2 separate regions of the Homo sapiens genome follow, and region 2 is linked to region 1. The links are contacts of gene promoters, found by promoter capture Hi-C in blood cells and fetal thymus (Javierre and others, 2016). All regions are on one chromosome and are shown on one strand. The core of a region is centred on a gene start or on the middle of the fragment in contact, and the rest is flanking DNA. Distances in the headings are between cores, read along the strand shown.

The links. The method cuts DNA at HindIII sites, captures the fragments that hold promoters and counts their contacts. A CHiCAGO score of 5 or more calls a contact.
Region 2: a contact is called between a fragment that was not itself captured here and the fragment with the promoter of NEMF in region 1, in 1 of 17 cell types (monocytes). The highest score is 5.1, in monocytes.

The regions. Positions count from the first base shown.
Region 1 is chr14:49,850,793-49,854,729 of GRCh38, forward strand. It overlaps NEMF (nuclear export mediator factor), which reads right to left and starts at 1,996. Exons shown (of 33, transcript NM_004713.6): 1 at 1,903-1,996; 2 at 1,015-1,083; 3 at 771-873. The coding sequence starts at 1,961. It also overlaps RN7SL3. RefSeq lists an enhancer at 2,003-2,242 and a silencer at 3,046-3,105. The HindIII fragment of the contact is 4,280 bases long and covers 1,157-3,937 here.
Region 2 is chr14:50,930,450-50,934,386 of GRCh38, forward strand. It overlaps PYGL (glycogen phosphorylase L), which reads right to left. Exons shown (of 20, transcript NM_002863.5): 4 at 1,224-1,327. Among named protein-coding and RNA genes, the nearest start is that of PYGL, 12 kb to the right of the region's middle. The HindIII fragment of the contact is 4,432 bases long and covers 1-3,937 here.

The sequences.
Region 1 (3,937 bases), core at 746-3,245:
GGTGGGGCAGGGAGGAGAAAGAACACAGAAAGCCAAGAATGTTAGGCTATAGAATATGGATTTAGAAATCAGGAAACCATAAAAGGTGAGGTAACTAATGAAAATTATACTTTAAAAAAATTAATGTTGGGCCAGGCGCGGTGGCTCATGCCTGTAATCCCAGCACTTCAGGAGGCTGAGGCTGGCGGATCACCTGAGGTCACGCATTTGAGATCAGACTGGCCAACATGGTGAAACCCCATCTCTACTAAAAATAGAGAAATTAGCCGGGTCTGGTGGCACACGCCTGTAATCCCAGCTACTGAGGAGGCTGAGGCAAGAGAATCACTTGAACCTGGGAGGCAGAGGTTGCAGTGAGCCAAGACTGTGCCACTGCACTCCAGCCTGGGTGACAGAGCGAGACTCCTTCTCAAAAACGAACAAAAAAACAAACAAACAAAAACAAAAAAATTAACGTTGGTCTAATTTAGAATTGTTTTGATGCAGAGAAGTGAATTACAGTTAAGGAACTGTAAGGCTGAATGTGATAAAAGCTTGAACTCTAATAGTGACTGTGGAAACAGAAGATCTGGAGCAGAACAGGATGTGAAAGGTAATGGGGAGAAATCAATTAATAAATATTCACTTTATTCAACCCATTATCTGTCAACCACTCCCTTTACCTTCATTTTATCTGCACTTTATTCGTAACAGTGAAGGAAACCCCAATTAAAAACTTAATTGTTAGTGAGCAATCTCTTAAAATTTAGCTTCAAGCGTAACAAGTTTACCTTCATGGCAAAACTAGACGGCATCATATTCTTAGGCCACTCAAATTCTGTTGTATGAATTCGTATGCCAGATTCAAGTAAAAGTGTAGCTTTAAAGTCCGGTCTGTAGAAGAAAAAAGTCGAATTTTTCTTTAGGGTATATGCCAAAGCTAATTGCTAAACAGGCTTAAAATGTAGGTTAAAAAAAATCAGTAATCTCATACTTAATTGTCAAAGAGAAAATAAGCCTATAAAATGTTCTTACTTTTGAAGACGAATAAGGTATGTCTTATTATCCACATCATAAACATTGTTTACTCTCATTCCTAGCAAGCTGCAAAGATAAAGGAAACATGTAACATGTTACACTATTGTCTGAAACATAAAACTACACATAATTTAATAAAAGCTTCGAAAGAGCGGATCTCAGTCTCTAAGGATATGGAGTCAGCCGAGGAGCAGAGTCTGAAAGCCATTTGGAGATTCAGTTCAAAACTTAAGAGTAACGATTTAAAAACAGAAGTGGTCTATCAGCTCTAGGAACAACACACTATAGCTTGCGTCTTCCAAATGACCCAATTTTGGGGGAGAAATACAGTAAAATATAATCCAATTAATTTATTACAAGGGAGAAAAAAAAAAGATAAAAGAGGGCCCCGAAAATATGACAAAGCTCACAGGGCTGAATAATAGAATCCAGACTAGAATCCAGATCTCAGTCCAAATCTGCTCAATCCAGCTAAAACCGCGATGCTCTCTCTCTCTCTGGGGTGAGGGGAGGGAGGTGTTCAAGAAACCAAGCCCCCAGTCTGGAAACCTCTGAAGCAAACGACCACTCTGGCGTCTCGTGTTTTAACAAACGTTTCCTGCCCAACCCGGACAACCCAGGCCAACAATGCAAGAGCTTCGCGCTAGCGGGGCAAGCCAGAGAGCTGGGAGGACGCGGGGGATGGGGCACGAGGTGCCTGGGACCCCCAGGGGTATCCTAAGGGTCACGGGAAAGACACCACACGCCTGCCCACTCAGGCCTAGGCAGGTCCATAGACGCACTAGGAAATAAGGAAACATATCAAGCTGGTCTGTTTGCGCCATGGGACTCCGGCCTCTGCCTCCTGCACTCCCCACACGAGCCTCGTCACTTAGGGTACTGTACCTAGCATTCAGCTCCGCGAGTACGGCGCGGAGGTCAATGGTGCTAAAGCGGCTCTTCATGGCGAGGCCCGAGGGTCACTACCGCAAGTTCCTCTACTGCCCGGCCGGACTCGACGCCACTTCTCCTCCGCGCAGGCGCACTTGGCGGAGCTCTACGGCCGCGCAGAAGACCCAATATTCCTCGAGGCGAACGTATTTGTGTCGCTTTTCTGAAGATTTCGATTGTCAAGTTGCAGCTGACTCTCTTCATTGTACCAAAATTCAAATTCGAATAAAGATTCAAACTGTTCTCTTGAAACTGCATTCCTTCCTGGAACCCTTACGGACCAGTCTGGTTACCGTGCCCCATTGTGTCTTGGGCTCAAGTCAGCCTTCATAGTGACCCCTGCTGGTCGAAACAATTTTCGAGATGATTATCAGGAGTATTTCCCCACAGGGGGGCCGTAGGGCTCAGTGTAGAAGAGCAAGGACCCCTTTCTGCGCGCTTACTTTGACATAAGATTTTGAAATGTAACGAAACGGAACTGCTTCGGTCCTTCTAAGATTATCCTCAACGATCGAGGCGAACTCTCAAAACGGAGTTCCTATTTTGATGGGTCCTGCTCTCGGAAGGAGCATTCTGCAATTGATTACAGGATTCTCATCGAACCTCGGTCTTGGTACCCCTGAGACTCACCGCAGTACCTGGTGTACAATCGGTGCTCCATAAACACTTGGCAGCATGAATGTGCAAGTGTTTAGCTAGATAATGGTGAAATAAGATAAAAATAAAAACAAGAAGATTCCCAATGGGGGTGGGGTGGGAGGGGGGATTCACAGTGTAGTGAGGAAAATAGTCCTGTAAGAATGTAAATTCTGCATTTCTTTTGTCTTAGGATAGATGCATGGGAAGAAAGGCTACTTTATAAGGTGAGAACTCAAAAGAGGCAGGGTCTCACTATGTTGCCCAGGCTGGAGTGCAGTGGCTATTCACAGGCGCAATCCCACTACTGATCAGCACGGGAGTTTTGACCTGCTCCGTTTCCGACCTGGGCCGGTTCACCCCTCCTTAGGCAACCTGGTGGTCCCCCGCTCCCGGGAGGTCACCATATTGATGCCGAACTCAGTGCGGACACCCGATCGGCATAGCGCACTACAGCCCAGAACTCCTGAACTCAAGGGATCCTCCAGCCTCAGCCTCCCGAGTAGCTGGGACTACAGGCACGCGCCACCGCGCCCGGCGCTCGGCGTCGCTGCAAAAGAGCTGCTAGAGGCTTGCAGGCTACACATGGTAGCAACCAGAATTCCTACCACCAGAAGGCGACTCTAAACAGAAAGGGCGCCGCTGCTATTTCAGAACTGGTACCAGTAGATGCAAAAATGGCTATAGCACATACTGCACAGCATTACTGTCATACGGTACAGTAAACCATACAGAATGGCCCAAAATATGAAAGCATTGGGGAGAAGGTGGAGAACAGGGAACTTTTGTATGCTGTTGATGGGAATGTAAATTAGTAGAGCCATTGTGCAAAACAGTATAAAGGCTCCTCACAAAATTAAGAATAGAATTACCATGTGATCTAGCAACAACATCACTATCCTGAAGATATATGTTCATGTTCATTGCAGCATTATTCACAATAGCCAAGATATAGGGATAATCTACTTTTCATCAATGGATGAACGGATAATGAGTGCAAATATATATGTACACACACACACACACACACATACATACATACAGTGGAATATTATTCAGCTTTCAAAAAAGAAATAAATCTTGCTGTTTGCAACTGGCATGGATTTAACAACATGGATGAACCTGGAGGACATTATGCTAAGTGAAATAAGCCAGACATAAAAAGACAAATACTGCATGATCTCACTTATACGTGGAATCTAGAAGTTTCTCATAGAAACAGACAGCAGAAATGTGGTTTCCAGGACTTGGGATGTAGGGGAAATGGGAAGATACTGGTCAAAATGCACAAACTTTCGGTTGTAAGTAGAGTAAGTTATGGAGACTTAATGTACAACATGCTGATTATAGTTCA
Region 2 (3,937 bases), core at 500-2,999, 1.1 Mb after region 1:
CTCAGCTTTTATTTATTTGGGGGTAGCTAAAGATAAACAGCTCTGGTCCTTAGCAAAATGTGGAAGTTTGTCTTCCACTCTATCCCTAATATTCTCCTGAGTCTTTTTCCTTGGCACATTCTCTCATCAAACCAAATTTTTTAGTTCCTCCCTTTTTTGGTTCACAAAGAATCCAAATACTGAGGGAGGGGAAAGAGGGCAGTGGTGACACTAAACTCATTCTCATAGGGTTATCTTCCTTTATCCTGGCACAGCCTAGGTCTCTGCATCCAGTCCCTGAGCGTTCTCTTGTTGGACTCATCTCATAAGTGTGGGAAAGGCTCAGAGAGCTCAAGTTTTTTGGAAACTGAAGATATATATTTCTGTCAATGGTGTATGTATGAGACAAAAATAGGGAGAGAGGAAGCCTAAATCACACTTAGTATTAGCAAAAACTGTCCACACTAGGGCGACTGTAGACTCAAACAGTTACCAGAGATAAAAAAAAAATAAGTACCTAACAATCTGGTTTGATTATATAAAGTAAAAGTAGTGTCATTTGGATAGATTTGTACAAATTTCTATGGGGCAGTGTAATTATACATATTAAATGTGTGCCAGATTTATTTGCTATAACAGTTAACAACACTGTCTGATTTCATCTTATAAAAAAATCAGGACACTTGGTTTGTGTCTTGTAACCATAGCATATTAAAGAAGGCAAGACTCTGAGTGTAGAATAGAATACTGAATATGGTCCTGGGAATCTGGGGATACAGACATGTATTGGCCAGCAGTGTGATCTGAGGTAACTTTACTTCCTCAGAGACTCAGTGTTCTCACCTACAAAATGGCAATGTGCTTCCTATCATCAAGGGTTCTTGGCTGAGATCATGAGTCAAAGATGTGCTCCTCCATTATGACTGCTGCAGAGAATGGAACATCACACATTGTAGGTGCTCCACAATCAGGCAGTCAGTGATATATATTTTCAGAGCACCCTGTGCGTCAGCCACTGCCCTCAGTGCAATGGATCTGGTGATGAGTGATACTGGAAGGCTCTCTGTTCTTGGGGAACATACATTCTGAAGTGGGAAGATGGATAGATAGAACTCACTGATACCAACCAAATGCCAGAGAAATTAGTACAGCTCTATGTTAAAGGTCCATATATTATAAATCATCCAGAGCACCATGAAAGAGAAGTACCTTAATGACAAAATTTAAAAAGATGGCTCACACACCTGCCATCCATCTCGGATCTTCTGATTGAAAATCCCATATTCATACCGAATGCCGTATCCATAGGCTGCAAGTCCCAGGGTTGCCATGGAATCCAAGAAGCAGGCTACATTCAACAGAGCACAGGCAAAAGATAGAGTCATTAAGCTGAGCCAAAATTTCCAGTCTTTCCCTAAAACACATGGCAGCCACAAAACATTGTTATATGAAGAACCACATTTGTATTCTAAAGCACAGATACTACTGCACAATGGGTATTGATTTTTAAAAATAACTCATTTCTAATTATAAAATTAATACTATAGAAAAGTTAGAAAATGCAAAAATGTATAAAGAAGAAAATCTCATCTATGACCTCACCATCTAGAAATAACTATTGTGTACATTTTGTTTGAGAACAGATAAGGAAGCCAACCTGCACCAGATAATGTCGATTATTGTCCCCACACTGCCTTTTCTAAGGGAAGCTGTCTCTATCCTCCCCTAAGACTCACCCCACTGGAAAAGACAGTCCCAGGAGAGTATAACTTATATGTGTCCCATTCCCTTCCAGCAACTGACTGACAAGATATTCTGTGGCCAGCTCTGTTTCTTCCTGGCTAATGGAATTCCACTGTTGTTCAGATATTAGGTGATCATATGCTTCAGGGAGGCTGAACCAGGAAGTGAATCTTGCTGGATTGGTCTAATCTGCTAAGCCAATCATAGCAATTGTATTTCCTTCTCCGTGGGCATACAATGACATTCAATCAGATGAGTGGTGCTAGAAAGTCTGTTGGGTATAGGAGAATTCTGGGAAAGATTTTCCTTGCTGCCACTGTCTTTTTTCCATGAGGGGAAAGACAAAAGGACCAGAGACCTGGAGTCCTGCTATACTCCTGCTGCTGAATAAACCAGTCTTGGAATGGCCTTACCTCTGGAGTTCTTGTTATATGATAACACATGTCCTTTTTGATTGAAGCATTTTTGCTAGGTTTTCTGTTATTTAATGACAGGGCATCTGATCCAGAACAGTTAACCAACAGGCTGGGTAAGGATCTGTCTTGTGGCTGGATGAAAACTAAGGTGTTACACTAATCAGATTGTCCCTCCCAGGAATTTAAGCTGAGAAATATACACAGAATGAGGAAGTGTACAGTAGGAATTAAAACTGACAAGAATATTAAAAGCTGTAGATCAAACAGAAAGGGATTGAATGAGGTTGGTGGTACAGCCCTTAAAACAGAGATCCACAAACACAAATGGCCTAGGCTTTCAAGTTTTTCTTACATCGCCAATCCCTGTGCTCACATATGGCCTGGCTCTGCTCCCATTCCTGTTCTCTTTGAGCTGTGGCTCTTCGGCTTTTCCTGAGTCCTGATCAGATTATCTTTAGAGGGGGTCCCAACTTAGATGAGATCATCTAATGAGAATTCTCAGCTTCATCAGCCTCTTCACTCTGACTTCATCAGTCAACTCAAGGAGCGATGTCATGAATGTCAGACACAGAGTTAACCTAGCTAACAAAGACTGAGGGCTCGGGCTTCACATAAAAGGTAGGCAGGCTGGTTCTTATTCTCAGATGTGCATCAGCACTGCTGGCCTTCCTGCAGCCCCATAGAAAGCCTACTAAATTGTCTGATAATTAACTTCACAGGAAGGTGGCAAGTATCCCACAGGCATTGTTTTATTTTGTTTTGTTCATTATTAATGACAATGTTAAAGCACACTGTGACTAATGTACTAAGGATGAAAAAAATGAAACAGATGCAAATGGCTTTCTAGTAACTTGGGTGTATGCAAAATCAGAAGATTTTTGAACAATTTCTAAAAGAGAGGAGATAATTATTTTTCATAGAATACAATCTGATACATGTGTGGTAGTACATTTTTATTATTAAATTTAAATTTCACAAATAATACATTAATGCATCTTCCTTAAAAATATTAAAAGTTACAGACAAAAAAATTTATTATGCCAGCATCCCCTTTGATCGCTATCCCAGTTCTGCACTCCTCCCTACAGGGGGTCGTAGGGAACAGTTTCGTATTTAAAATTCCAGACCTTTTTTTCTACATATTCACATTATATACATATGTACACACACACATATATACACACACACACACATATATGTCTGGAATATATATCTTCCAGATCTTTTTCCTATATATTTACACACACACAGACACATACATATATATTCACAGAAAATATTTAATTTTTAAAAAACAAATGGTATCACACTGTATGGCTTTAATGCAATTTGATTTCGCTTTTAATTTGGAGATCTAGCTAGGAAAGTACATCTAGGTCAATTTTGTTCTTCAACAATCAGTGTAGTACTTTTATAAACTACACTGTAACAATTATTTTCCCCACATGTCTTCTTATGTGTGTGCTTCTTTAGGGTAGATATCAAGTGGAATTACTTGGTTATAGAGATGTGTATTTTCTAAACTAATGGAGCTGGTATTGTATTTTTAGTGCTTTCCTATATATTTGATGAAAAATTATTCCCTGAAAAAAGCAAAGAACTCAAATTGTATCCACACACAAAAAGGACATTATTAACAAAATCATACCAATAATATTAGTGTATCATTGCCCACTAGTCAATCAAGCAGTCAAGTGCACAAGGCAAGACAATGGTTGACCAACTGGGGTCATGCCTCTGACCTGGAGTCTACCACTGAAAAAATAAAATAAAATAAAACAACAGCAACTTAACTTAGG